Linked DNA regions of Homo sapiens: regions 1 and 2 are each linked to region 3. The links are contacts of gene promoters, found by promoter capture Hi-C in blood cells and fetal thymus (Javierre and others, 2016). All regions are on one chromosome and are shown on one strand. Each heading gives the region's core, a stretch centred on a gene start or on the middle of the fragment in contact. The rest is flanking DNA. Distances are from core to core; before and after follow the strand shown. Region 1 holds the start of PAPOLG (poly(A) polymerase gamma). Region 2 holds the start of REL (REL proto-oncogene, NF-kB subunit). Region 3 overlaps LOC107984043 (formin-2-like).

What was found. The method cuts DNA at HindIII sites, captures the fragments that hold promoters and counts their contacts. A CHiCAGO score of 5 or more calls a contact.
Region 1: the fragment with the promoter of PAPOLG here is called in contact with a fragment that was not itself captured in region 3 in 1 of 17 cell types (total CD4 T cells); the score reaches 5.3 in total CD4 T cells.
Region 2: a contact is called between the fragment with the promoter of REL here and a fragment that was not itself captured in region 3, in 1 of 17 cell types (neutrophils). The highest score is 5.5, in neutrophils.

What each region holds. Positions count from the first base shown.
Region 1 is chr2:60,754,895-60,759,740 of GRCh38, forward strand. PAPOLG (poly(A) polymerase gamma) reads left to right here and starts at 1,374. Exons shown (of 22, transcript NM_022894.4): 1 at 1,374-1,601. The coding sequence starts at 1,585. RefSeq lists enhancers at 1,290-1,599, 4,234-4,733. The HindIII fragment of the contact is 3,911 bases long and covers 927-4,837 here.
Region 2 is chr2:60,879,391-60,884,015 of GRCh38, forward strand. REL (REL proto-oncogene, NF-kB subunit) reads left to right here and starts at 2,184. Exons shown (of 10, transcript NM_001291746.2): 1 at 2,184-2,460. The coding sequence starts at 2,451. It overlaps REL-DT (REL divergent transcript), which reads right to left and starts at 1,924. Exons shown (of 3, transcript NR_033980.1): 1 at 1,842-1,924. RefSeq lists a silencer at 1,779-2,318 and an enhancer at 1,927-2,596. The HindIII fragment of the contact is 7,860 bases long and covers 1-3,866 here.
Region 3 is chr2:58,040,347-58,044,875 of GRCh38, forward strand. LOC107984043 (formin-2-like) reads right to left here. Exons shown (of 3, transcript NR_171623.1): 2 at 1,146-1,207; 3 at 1-722. It also overlaps a transcript of VRK2 not described here. Among named protein-coding and RNA genes, the nearest start is that of VRK2, 4.2 kb to the right of the region's middle. The HindIII fragment of the contact is 8,313 bases long and covers 1-4,529 here.

The DNA of each region.
Region 1 (4,846 bases), core at 124-2,623, 2.7 Mb after region 3:
ACCTCAAGTGATCCACCCGCCTCAGCCTCCCAAAATGTTAGGATTACAGGTGTGATCCACCACACCAGGCCACGTCAGGTTTTTGTTGTTGCTTTTAAGTAGAGATGGGTTTTTGCCATGTTGGCCAGGCTGGTCTTAATAGAACTCATGGCCTCAAGTGATCCACCAGCCTTGGCGTCACAAAGCACTGGGATTGCAGGCAAGAGCCACTGCACCTTGCTCAGGTTTTCAAAAATATGTTTTGTAGTTTTTATTTATTTATTTATTTATTTATTTTTTTGAGACAGGGTCTCCTTCTATCACTCTGGCTGGAATGCAGTGGTGCCATCCTGGTTTCCTGCAGCCTCCACGTCCTGGACTCAAAGAGATCCTCCCACCCCAGCCTCCTGAGTAGCTGGGACTACAGGCATGGGCCACCATGCCCAGCTAATTTTTTTAAAACTTTTTGTAGTGACAGGGTCTCACTATGTTGCCCAGGCTGTTCTCGAACTCCTGGCCTCAAGCAATTCTCCCACCTTGGCCTCCCAAAGTGCTGGGATTACAGGTGTGAGCCACTGTATCTTGCCTCAATAAATATTTTTTAATGAATTAATCAGCAAGTAATCTCCTCTATTTACTGTGACTCTGAGTTATGTTCAAGAGCAAGCAGTTCTTGACTTCCTTTTCTTTGTAATGATTTAGTGCTTGAAATTACTTCTACCTTTCAGCATTTTAAAATTGGTTATTATTTTCTCATTTTCATCCCCACACTCACATCGAACATGATTTCCACTATTTAAAAGTGTAAGATTTTTGTTTCAGCCTGGGATTTATCCTATTGCAAACTGCTAGCTACTATTTTCAACCTCTGTCAGCTAAATGCCAGAATGTCACTAATCAAAGGTGGTACTTAGGGGTGAAGTGAACAGTTAAGCCTCCAATTTACAAGCTTGTTTTTCCCTGGGATACTTGTGTGAAAGTCGTATGTTCCTGGGTGTGACCCTTTCGAGACAAAATCTCAACTGGTGAGTTAATTATGTATAACTATAATTAAATCAAAGATGTAGGATAACGGAGGCGTTGAAATAGTTTTTGCTAGGCAAGGGTGTGACCTTTTTAAAAAATGTATGATATATGCTGCCATTCGAGAGGCAAGGAAAACATATCTCCAAATTTCCTTCCAAGCGGTCTACCGGCATTGACAGTACCGCGGACAAAGGAGAGTACCAAATAAATACTCCTTCGAACCAACGGTATACTGAGAGCCCTGAGCTTGTGGGCGGGGCCCCGGAGCCTCCCGGGACCTAAAGGCAGAGGGGGCGTGGCTGAGGGTGGTCCAGACCTCCAGGGGCGGGGCTGAGACCTGCGAGAGGCAGGCTGGGAAGCGGCGCCATATTGGCGTCGGCCGCGCTGTATTGTCATAAATAGAGCCGGTTTTGTGGTGTTTTCACTACTCGGTTGGATGCCTCAGCCATAGTAAGTGGGAAAGTGAGCGAGCAAGCGAGCTACTAGCGACCGGAGGAAAGTGAACAGGGGGAGAAGGGAACAGCAAGAACAGGACTCCAGAGCGATAAACACTCGCTGGAGAGGGAGACGCAGGAAGCGATGAAAGAGATGTCTGCGTAAGTGGTGGGGGGCGGCGGTTGGGGTGAGGCGGGTAGGGGTGAGCTGAGGTGGTCCGACTGTGTCCTTGTTTCCGTTCCCTGTCCCTTGCGCCCTGCACGCAGCTCGCCGGGATGGTCTCCTTCCCGGCTCCCGGCCGGTCCGCAAGGGCACCTCCCCTAAACCCGGCGGCTCACCTGGCCACCCCTGCACGGACTCGGGGACTCCGGGAGTCCCCAGCTGTCCCGCCTCCGAGGACGCCCTCAGAAAAGGATGAGGAGGGAAAGAGGTGCCTGTGTCCGTAGGGAGAAATTGTCGGTCACTCGCCTGCCCCCAGCACTGTCTGAGCCCGTCTGCTCCTGTCTGCATTGGCGCAAATACCATCCCCCTGCCTCCCCCTCCTCCCTTCCCGACCGGCTGTCTCCAGGTCTTCAGGAGTGAAAGACCTATCGCAGCCCAAGGGTTTCTCTTTCATATGAGGCTACAGTCTTTTCACCGCCGTCCCCACCCTCTCCCTCACCCCCTGCTTCCCCACCTACCCACAACATCTACCGGTCTGTACCTCTTGTTCACACTTTGATAAGTCAGAAACAGTTCCCGTACTTGGCAAGATTTTGTTGTAGCTTCTTCCATTTTGGTCTATTAGGAAATAATTTAAACATGCAGAAAAATGTAGAGAATAACATAAGCATCATTTGTGGAGCCACCACCCATTTCTCCCAAAACGTAACTGTACACACATACACGTACATGCACACACGCACACACACGGTGTGTATATACGTATCTGTGTATTTATTTTAAAAAGAAATCAAGCATTCCAGATACATCTGAAGGACTCTCCTACCTCCTTCTCTGGTCCCAATCATCTCTTGCTCCAGATGTCTCCACAGTCTTGAATTTGATGTTTATCGTTGCTGCCTGTTTTTTATTTTACTTCTTTTTTTTCCGCCCTCGAATCATGGGAGCTGCATGTTTTTTAATGCTATTACTACATACACATGTGTTCATAATAACTGGCATAGTTCTAGTTGTTTTTAAACTTTATATAACTCGTATCACACTTGGAATTCTGTAACTTCTTTAGCACAACATAGTATCTCTGAGCTTTGTTCATGTTAGTATTTTAGTTGTAATTAATTAATATTAATTATTGTATTGTATTCTATTGTAGGAAAACACCCTAATTTAATTCTTTTCCTGTTAGTGACTATTTTATTTCTAAGTTTTTAATGTTACAATGTGACAGTGAACGTTCTTTTAGGTGTCTCTTTGTACGCTTGTAACTAGAATTTCTCTAGGTTGTTTGCCTGTAAGTGAAATTGATGGTTTGAAGGGAATGTGGGATTCTGTTGTTTACTTTCCCCTCCCCTCTAGATGGGGGAAGTTCAGAACCTGGATTTGGAATTTTAGGGCCAGTAGGCTAGTTGGCCAACTTTGTCAGCATACAGGTAAAAAAGTGAGGCCCGTCATCATGGTGTCAGAGCTGAAGTAGTTAGAGAGGAGAGAATGGAGTAGTGGAAAGAGGTTTTGGAGTTCAGATTCTGGCTTGTCCTCTCTTTGACTTTCAGGTACTTATCTGTAAAATGGCACTTATTCAATACCCCTTAGGATTATTGCGATTGAGTGATACTATATAGATATGTAGATAATTACTCTGTCCTATTCACTTACCGTATATATTTACATATGTATTACACAAACAATACCAAAACACTGCTCTAGCTTTCTCAGAGGTAAAAAGCCAAATCTTTAAAAAGAAATTACCACTTGAAATAACTAATTGAAGTTTTGTTTGTTCTACAACAAAATAAATACAGAAGATAAATTAACCAGTATTTTGGTTTCTGGGGTTTTTTTTTTTTTTTTTTTTTTTGAGTCATTTTGGAAGGTATACAGGCTATTTTATCTTCCATTTGATTCTTTCTCCCTCTCTGCCTAATGAGATTTTTTTTTTTTTTTTTTTTTTGAGACGGAGTTTCGCTCTTGTTGCCCAGGCTGGAGTGTGGTGGCGCGATCTTGGTTCACTGCAACCTTCGTCTCCTGGGTTCAAGCGAATCTCCTGCCTCAGCCTCCCGAGTAGCCGGGATTACAGACGTCCGCCACCATGCCCAGCTAATTTTTTGTATTTTCAGTAGAGACGGGGTTTCACCATGTTGGCCAGGCTGATCTTGAACTTCTGACCTCAAGTAATCCACCTGCCTTGGCCTCCCAGAGTACTGGGATTACAGGCATGAGGCACCACGCCCGGCCTCTAATGAGATCTTTAGCTATTACAGCGTGTCTTACTCTGTGTACTTAGTAGTGGTAAGACAGTGTTTTGACCAGTTAGAATCCAAAAACAATTAAACAATCTCTATTGTATGTTATTTTTTACAGGGCTAATTTATTCAACTTGAAAGATTGTTTCTAATTTTGAGATTACATTCTTACTCTTGGTGTTAATGGCCCTTCATGGAAGCATGGTGAAGATAAATGGTAGTGTTGGTCGTTTAGTGTGTATGTTTTTACTTTCATAGCAAAATTAGAAGTTTTGCCAACCCCTGTTGGTCCCAGAATTTATTTTGAAGTTGATTAGTTTGTGTAAACTCAAAATCTCAGAACTTGAATTGGCTGAGCGCGGGGGCTCACGCCTGTGATCCCAGCACCGTGGGAGGCCGAGACTGTTGGATCACCTGAGGTCAGGAGTTCGAGACCAGCCTGGCAACATGGCGAAACTCCGTCTCTACTAAAAATACAAAAAGTAGCTGGGTGTGGTGGCACATGCCTGTAATCCCAGCTACTTGGGAGGCTGAGGTAGGAGAATTGCTTGAACCCAGGAGGCAGAGGTTGCAGTGAGCTGAGATCTCCCCAATGCACTCCAGCCTGGGAGACAGAGAGAGACTCCATCTCAAAAAAAAAAAGAAAAAAAAGTCTCAGAACTTCTGTTGTACTTTATTCAAGACCGTAGTTTCTTGATGGCTAAGATGTTTGGAGGGTGGCTCATGTATCTTCCAAAAGATTGCCAGTAGTATAAAGAATTTTATTTCAATGTGAAGATGGTATGGGTACCAGTCTAAAATGAAGAGAATAATTAACTAGAATCACAAAGTACTAGGACTGTAAACTCTGATTCAAGCAGAGGATGTTAACCTCGGTTTCCCAAGGACAAATCTAATTGTGATTTCTTTTTAAAAGCCAGATTATTTCACAAGGACCTTCTAATGGGATGTTTTCATTTCTTTCCTGGGGAAAAAAACCCATTGTTTTTACTAAAAGCTTTATT
Region 2 (4,625 bases), core at 934-3,433, 2.8 Mb after region 3:
GTGTTCTAACCATATATTATTAAAATAGGCATTTCAACTACATGAAAGTGAATGTTTGATGAGACGTTTGAAGGTCATGAGGATGAGGGACAATTCTTGACTGTGCTCTTTCCTATCTCAAGGACCTGCTGCCTGCTGTTCCCCCAGCTGGAATGTTCTTTCCCTGAATCTCCCTGTGAATGGCCTTTTTTTTTTTTTTTTTTTTTTTCTGAGACGGAGTCTCGCTCTGTCGCCCAGGCTGGAGTGCAAGTGGCATGATCTCGGCTCACCGCAACCTCCGCCTCCCAGGTTCAAGCAATTCTCTACCTCAGCCTCCTGAGTAGCTGGGGTTACAGGCGCCCGCCACCACGCCTGGCTAATTTTTGTATTTTTAGTAGAGACGGGGTTTCACCATCTTGGCCAGACTGGTCTTGAACTCCCAACCTCGTGATCCACTTGCCTCAGCCTCCCAAAGTGCTGGGATTACAGGCATGAGCCACTGCGCCTGGCCGGCTCTTTCTTAAACTGAGGACTCAGCTCAAATGTCACCTCCTCAGAACTTTCCTCTCCCCCAGTCACTTTTCATTTTGAAATTCCTTCAGAGAACTGAAAATGTTTTCCGTCTCTTTGAAATGTATGTACATATTTTAAAAAGCTAAATAAGCCTCTTGCTAGTTTTGCGTCCTCAGAAGGTCTTTCTTGCGGGCCTCGGAGCCATCTCTTGGAAATGTGAACATCAAGGATGGTGCTCCATGTTTCTGTCTCTAGGAGGGTTTAAGCCTTGGCTCTTGGTTCCAAGATAACTTCCCATTATTTTCCTTTGGATAAAGACAATTAATAGGTATGTAATGGATTGTACGTGCCTGACCATATGAAAAGGTGAGATTTCCTTTTTTTTGGTCTTTGCACTCTCTTCAGTGGATTGCCTGTGATGTGCATCATGGTACGTTTTAGTACATATCCAATAATAAAACTGTTTCATTCTTTTGTTGTACATTGCGCATTTCGTGGAAAGAACAGTTTGGGGTTGGCAGGATATTTTAAATTATTTGCCCATATGGGTCCCCCAGTTTTGGGCACTTGTATGGCAGGCTGATATTCCCCATTACCTCTCCGTACTAATTTTAACTAGTAAGGGACAGGGGCAAGGGCATGGAGCTTTGGAGTCAGACAACCCTGGCTTTAAACTGTGCCTTTTATCAGCATTCTGAAGTACTGTATGTTGAAGTAACTTCTCTGAACCCCGAATACTTCATCTATAAAGTTAGGAATAATAAATACGTCATAGATTAAGTATGGACATTATCTGATGCATAGCAGGTACTATTCAAATGAAGGAAACGAAGTTATCCTAGGTCCTTTAATGCACTAAATGTGTGCTCCATTTCCGCCTTTCTTGGCATCTGTGTGAAATCTCAGGATATAGTGTCCACTAAACTTCAGTGCACTGCCTAATGAGACAACGAACTCCAAGTGCGGACCTTTTGAGTTTAAACGGGTTTCAGTAGGTAAAATACGTAAAGTTCACAGTACCCTCGCAATTTAGATGGAGGAAAAAAAATCAGTCGGGGGGGGGGTCCCCGTATGCAAATACAGGAATTACAGAAGAAGACAGGACCCCCGCCGCAGCACCACTTCCCCCTACAGGGCGCAACGTCCCGCCGCTGGCGCGGGGGTGGAGATTTGCATGTGCGAAGTCGGGAAGAGGGGGAACCACCTCTCGAAAACCCCGGCCGTCGCCCTCCCAGGCCGGGAGAGTCGGCCCCGCGCGCCCCCAAAAGCTCCCCAGCGGCCGGCCCTCTCTACGTCATCCGCACCCTCCCGCCCGCTCCTGAACTTTAAACCACACTCGGAAGAACAACCTGGAGGAGGGGGATTTCTCAGGAGCCAGCGGCCTTCTCACGCTGCTAGCCGTCACCTCCCGGCTCCCGCCGTTCCCTGCGCTCCCGAAGCCCACCCCAAGCTCCCGCTCCCTCGACCCCCTCCCAAGCCAGCCGCCGCAGCAGCGCCGGGGGCGTATGCGTGGGGGCCGGCGGGGAGCGTGCGCGGGGACAGGCAGGGGCGGGGCGCTGGGGGCGGTCGCGCGCGCGGCGGCCGCGAGGTCGCCCCGCCCACGCCTCCGGGTGAGGGTTGCTGCGTCGGGCCTACGTCAGCCGCGGGAAATTCCCCTCCCGCCAGGCTGCTCGCCTCTCGGCTGGGCCAGCACTCGGCTCTCCCCGCTCCGCCCCCTGCCCCTGGCTCCCGTACGGTGGACGGCGACGCTGGGTGACCCGGGGTGCAAGAATTCAGGGGTTGGGAAGGTGTGAGCCGCAAACCCAGCGGAGGGCGGGAAGAAGGAGGAGGCCTCTAGGGTGGTCGGGGGACTGGGGGCCCCGCCGGCAGAGGTCCCTCGGCCTCCTGACTGACTGACTGCGGCCGCCTCCGGCCAGGACGCTGGGAGCTGCCTGCGGGAAGGTGCGGGGAGCGGAGCCATGGCCTCCGGTGAGTGTTCATGGGGCGCGGGCCTGGGCCGGGGGAAAGGAGCTCTTCTGAAGGGGGTCCTGCCGCAGTGAGTTTAGGGAGCTCAGTTTTTGCTGGGGCGCGTTCTGTCTTTAAAATCTCATATGGTAAAATTGTCAGCTTTTAAAAAAGTTACCTGCTTCAGGGTTTGCGTGCAGAATCCAAGCCACGCTCTGTAATTCGATCCTGTTGTCATAGCAGGAACCTTAGAAATTCCCAACGACTTGATTTTAGGATTAGGGAAGTCATAAGCGAACCAAAGGAGGACGAAGAGTTCTCATTAAAAATGTATATGTATTGAAGATGGTGGTTTTATGTTTTAGAACAGGAATGAGGAACCTTCAGACCTCGGGCAAGCTCTCTCCCCCTTTTTAGTTTAATTTCATCAAATGCAAAGAGGTGATCCCCCTTGTACTGACAGTTGTACAAAATGTGTCACGGCTTTAAAAATCATCCGTGGTATTTTAACACGAATTAGAAAATCCGTGGTATTTTAAGTGTTAATGTTGCTTCGACCAAGTGTAGGCCGGGCGCGGTGGCTCATGCCTGTATTCCCAGCACTTTGGGAGGCCGAGGCGGGTGGATAACCAGAGGTCAGGAGTTTGAGACCAGCCTGGCAAACATGGTGAAACCCCGTCTCTACTAAAAATACAAAAATCAGCGGGGCGTGGTGGCGCGCGCCTGTAATCCCAGCTACTCGGGAAGCTGAGGCAGGAGAATCGCTTGAACCTGGGAGGTGGAGGTTGCAGTGAGCCGAGATCGCGCCCCTGCACTCCAGCCTGGGCGACAGAGGGAGACCCTGTCTCTATTTAAAAAAAAAAAAAATGTAGTTTTTACTGTGAGATAAAGCTCAAGGTTCCTAATCTGACGAATAGAGACGTTGAATCCCCCTTCCTCCTCGCTGGAAATAAGGGGAAAGAGGAGTTTTAGAATATCCGAGCTTTAAAATAATGAGTAGGAATGAATACAACTTTATCACTTATGTGACTATATATTTTCCCTTAATAAATGCTCGATCTCTCCCTTTGGGGGGGAATAAGTTTGTAAGAAACATTGCAGAGCAAGAAAGTCTCCTATATACACAGATGTGGTTGGGGCTGCCTGGAGCTTAAGGTTGAGGGGGACGGGAGAGCCGGGGCGGGGGGATAAATCAAGTAGCCTGGGGTCGAGTTGGTCTTTTACCAGGATTTTGGCAAGGTGAGTGGGGGACACTTTCCAGACAGAGGAAGCAGCGTGAGCAAAGGCAGGGAGGGCTAAATGCATGTTAAATGCTGTACTAAGAGAATGAAGAGGGGGCCCCGTTTATGAACTTGACTCTTATCCCCAAACTGCCTGGTCCAGTGACCCTCAGAAGTAGGCTGATGTCTAGTAGAGATGAGGAAGTAGGAAGCTTAAAGAACCTTTTTAAAAGGTTGAGCAGAACAATGCCATAGCTATTGCTGTAGGCAGAAAAGGAAATTGGGGTGTTTCACATGACATTTGATTTCAGTTTGTTTGTGGTTGTGAGAATACTAAGTGTAGTTTAAAATATTTCAACTTTCCCTTTTCCCACTTAAGTGACACCAGACTTTCAGATAATCGTGTAAATTTATGAATTCAAAGCATGTGTAGATTAGAAGTGCTAAGATGACTTCAAATATTTTGTTAATGTATTGGTTATCAGAAAGATTTTGTTTGGAAGTAATGGAGAATGCCTAGCATTATAAGTAAGTTCAGGCTCTTGGCGATTTAATCAAACTTTATTGATATATTGCATGAATTTAATACTTCTAATTTTTTCAGTTGAGAGAGGAAACAACCATTTCTATATAGAGTATTGTAAGACCCACAGGATTTTAAAATTTGATACAATTTAAATTTGTTCATTGACACTGTATTTTGTGCTGTTGTGAGGAGGAAGGATTCCCTAAAAGTAAGGAGGAAATGTTTAAAGAAATGGAAAGTTTTAAAGGTTTAGAAGTTGAAGGGTGATTAACTTTTTTTTTTTTTTTTTTGGTCTTTTCTAAGAGTTGCATTAAAATGGGACTATTTAAAATGTAACAAGTTATTTAAATTGTAATTCAGTTGTTAGAAAACTGCCAGGCCTGGAATAAAAAAAAAAAAATGTTTACAGGAATCTGTGTACTTTTCCTTAATCTGTTATAAAG
Region 3 (4,529 bases), core at 76-2,575:
GTCCAATTACTTTTATGATATCTAAAGAAAAATAAATCTGAATATAACATAATATCTTTCACTTGTCGTGTCCACTAGCTCCCAACTGCATGCTTAGGTCCTGAAATTGGCAGTGAGACTTAGAGGAAAACCTAAATACACTGTTTACATTAAAACATTTGTTAGCCCCTGTAGTGGAAGTAGTAAAGCAGTAAGAGAAATTGTGACCCAAAGCGACAAGAGAAGCCTTTGCTTCTGTGTGGACCACAACTTGGTTTAAGTGTCTTAAGGGCTGCAGAAAATCCAGGTCCATTTTGATGCCTTGCAAGCTACAGAATGTCAGAGATAGAGCTGTGTGGAAGAAGGCAGCTAGCAACATTAGCCAGATACTTCCACCTAGTTCATTAGGTAAGCTATGTGTCAACAGTAGATACCAACCAAAAGGTTCACAGTAGGAGAGACAAAGTGATGGAGCACATCTGAGATAGTCATTGGGAATGGTCAGGAATATTTGGGGAATAGAAGGTTCGTTCAAGACCCTTAGAGGATGTTGTTGCAATTGCATGAAAGGTAAGCCTAAAAACATGACTTACATGACACACAGGAAAACTATTTCTTACTTCTCCTCTGAAGGTGTCAACTCTATTCTTATTGAACATTCAGCTTCTGCTTAAAAATCATTCGGCCAGCTCCTCTTCTCCTCCTTATCCAGCTCATGTTTTTGGTTACTGCAGGGATGTTAACTGGGGGGGAAAAAGGATGTAGAGTGTAAATATAGTCTTATAGTTAACCTTTTATGGTGCTCGTATTTGGGGAATGGACAGGGTAAGAATCATACCACTTTTGGCTAGTCAATATTTGGTTTACTACATTCAATTGTTTGAGAGATAATCTGATACATATTTACATTTACATTTTGTTTGGCAGCAGGGTTCTACAAATTAATATGCTTAAAAATTTTTTATTGAGCCTTTTGACTATAAATGAAAAATAAAATTCTAAGCCCCCGAACTAACTGAATGGACCCCTCTTTTCAGCCAAGGACATTCCAAAGTTAACTGGAAACACCAGTTCAGGCCATGATGGAAATGGGTGGTTGGGTATGCATACCCTCTGCCCTTTGAAATTCCCACACAACTGACCAGCATTAATATTAAAGCACAGACCTTTGGACTGACGAGACAGACTTTTTGTAGCAATAAGATACCAACATGACAGATACCAGGCCCTGAAAAAAAATGAAGCAGTTTATCCCCAAATATATTTCTTTGACATGTTTTGAAATGGCCCTGCAAACATTCTCTTGTGGAAAAAATCTACATTCTGTAGAGAATCCCCTTCCCTTTCCAAGTCTTTTTCCTGATCCAGAAGAGAATTAACTAAGAATCTGGCATCTTTTTAAGTCTGATAAGAAACATTTAAAGTCTATTCTCTCTGAAGCCTGCTACCTGGAGGCTCCATCAGTAAACTAATACCCTTGGTCTCCACAACCCCTTATCTTAACCCAGATATTCCTTTCTGCTGATTCCAGGTCTTTAGATAAACTCAGAAAATCTTTGAATCCACCTATGACCTGGAACTCCCCCCTCCTACCCCCCTTTCAAGCTGTCGGGCCTTTCCAGACTGAACCAATGTACATTTTACAAGTATCGATTGACGTCTTCTGTCTCCCTAAAACATACGAAACCAAACTGTAGCCCAACCATCCTGGGCACATGTTCTCAGGACCTCCTGAGGCTGTATCCCGGGCATGTCCTTAACCTTGGCAAAAGAAACTTCTAAATTGATTGAGACTTATCTCAGATACTTTTTGGTTTACATGACATATTGATATGACATTTTAAATTATTTTTAATATTCTAATTCTTCATTTATATAGACAATGAAGAATTATGTCATTTGGATGATTAAGTTTATACTTTGTAATGATCTTATATGTAAAGAATGCAGAGGACATAGATACTTGGTCTGATTGTTTATCTAATGGGCTTGGAATTCCATTTACCTGAATTCTATTATTTTCAAAATTATTAATTTCAAAATTTCTATGTCAGGAACTGCTTAGCTGTTTAGAGATTGTAAGTTTATGAGTGCAAATGGCCTCCTGATTTTTACAGAACAAAAATACTAGCTCTTCTTTGGCAGGCAAAACACGTTCACTGATATGATCTCCTTATCTCACTTTAAATAACAAAAATTGGCTTTTTCTGAATGTTTTGTCTATGCATCATCTTTAACATTTTAATTGATTTGAAATGATCTTGGCCTTGTAAAGTATGCTTACTAAATGGTTGGGTTTTTCTTTTTCTTTTTAACCAGTGTAAGCATTTTATAGCACCCAGTTCTTTGAAAAGCAGAACGCATGCCATACCTACAAGTTGGCATACAGCCAAGAAAGTCCTTTTGTGTGCGTGTATTTGTGGTGAATCATTCATAGCCTGTAAGATCTATCAAAATAGCTTTGTTTGAAAACCTAGTTTTCCCCATATTTTTTTTCTGATGACTCACACTTCACTGCTTTCATGTCTAGATTCTCTTTTCTTTCTTGTTTCTCATCATGTTCATTCAGAAGATGTTCTTTCACTAGTTCCAAAATTTGTATTTCTATATTCTGTCAGTTTTCATCTTGAAACATACACACAGCAATATGCTCTGAATCATAAAATTCTGCATTAAATCCCAACACTTAAAAAAAACACATATTCTCAATATAGGTTTACCTGCTCCTGTTGCCATTTTTATTTAGTACAAATTTATTAACATTTAAAAATCATTGGCACTTATGAAACTTGAAACTTTATTTTACTGTTAGGAAGATTTTGGCTGCAAGAAATATAAAAACCAATGCTAAGTGGTTTAAATCATAAGAACACTTAACACTTCATGGATGAATATGAAAATATGGTGGTTCAGGATTAGTTGAATTAGTAGTTCAATAATGGCCTCAAAGACTCAGGATCTTCCTATCTTTCTCTTTTGCCATTCTTTTAAATCGATTTTATTAAGGCATAATTTATATATAATTCAATTTTAAGTGTATAACTAGAGGAATTTTGACAAATGTATAATAATGTATCTATTACCACAGTAAAGAAATTTAACATTTGCAACGTTTCAGCTCCTTGCAGTCAATCCCAGCTCTTCGATTTCGAATAAATTATTATATTATATATACTCCTTTGTGTCTTCTTTTACATAGCATTGTGTTTTTGATATTCATCCAGCTTGTTGACTGTATTGGTGCTTTGCTCCTTTTTATTGCTGAGTGATAGTTCATTGTATAGTAGATATAGTATAATTTGCTTATTCATTCACCAGTTGATGGAAATTTATTTCCAGTTTTGGCTATCACATATGAAGCTGCTCTAAAGATTCCCCTACAAGTCTTTGTGTGGATACAGGTTTAGATTTATCTTGGGTAAATATGCGAATGCTGGGTTGTATGTTAATTATATGTTTGACACTATAAGAACCTGCCAAACTGTTTTCCAGAGTGGCTGTACCATCAACAGCAATATAAGAGAGTTCCAAGTTGTTCCAAATCCTTGGTAACTTATTAGTATTTTTTGAAAAGCAAAAGTTTTTCATTTTGATGAAGTTAAATTGTCAATTTCTTCTTTTAGGTTTCCAGCTTTTAAATTTTTTATACTTTATAAGTGCACACATTTAAAGATTATATAGAGTTTCTGCTAGGTTTTCTCTAAAAAGTTTGAGATTTAGATCTTGTATTTAGATTTAGCTGTATGATCAGTTTCAAGTAAATTTTTACATGGGGTGTGAATTAAGGGTTGAGGTTTCTTTCTTTCTTCTTTTTTTTGTATATATGGATGTCTAGCTGTTCTAACATTTGTTGAATATTCTGCCATTCCTGGGGCTTTAGATTAGTACTTTTTCCCATCTTTGTGGTCACACGATGACTGCAGCCATTTTAACCATCACATCAGAGACTATCTCTTCCAAGAATGTGTCCAGCAAACTTCTTTTCACCTCGTTACCTAGACTCAGCACATGCTTATTTTGTACTGTCTAAACCAATCATGGGAATTGGAATGGGGCCAGCATGGTTCATTTATTCATTGAAGAAGGAAATGGTTGCCCATATCCTTTCTAGGGGTTGGGGATACAGTAGTGACGAAAACAGGCAAAAATGTTGCCTGACCTCATGAAACATACAATTTACTGAAAAAGATTGTCTTTTGTCAAAATAAATAATAAACTGTATAATATATTGCTGTATAGCAGTAGGTACTGGGAAAAATACAGGGAAAGAGGCTACGAAATATTGTGGGTGAGCTGAAATTTCAGATAGGATGTTTAGGAAAGGTCTCACTGAACTGACTTTTAAATAAAGACCTGAAGGAAGTGATGGAGCAGTCTATACGGATACCAGGTTGGAGAGTGGTCCAGGTGGCAGTAAATGCGAAAAGTTCTTGAGAACAGCAGGCCACTGTGGTTGAAGAGAGTAATAGGACATTGGGGAGTGGGAGTGCATAATAGGTAGATCAGTGTTCTTTTCAACGACTGGCAATTTTGGCAAAATTTCGTCATGT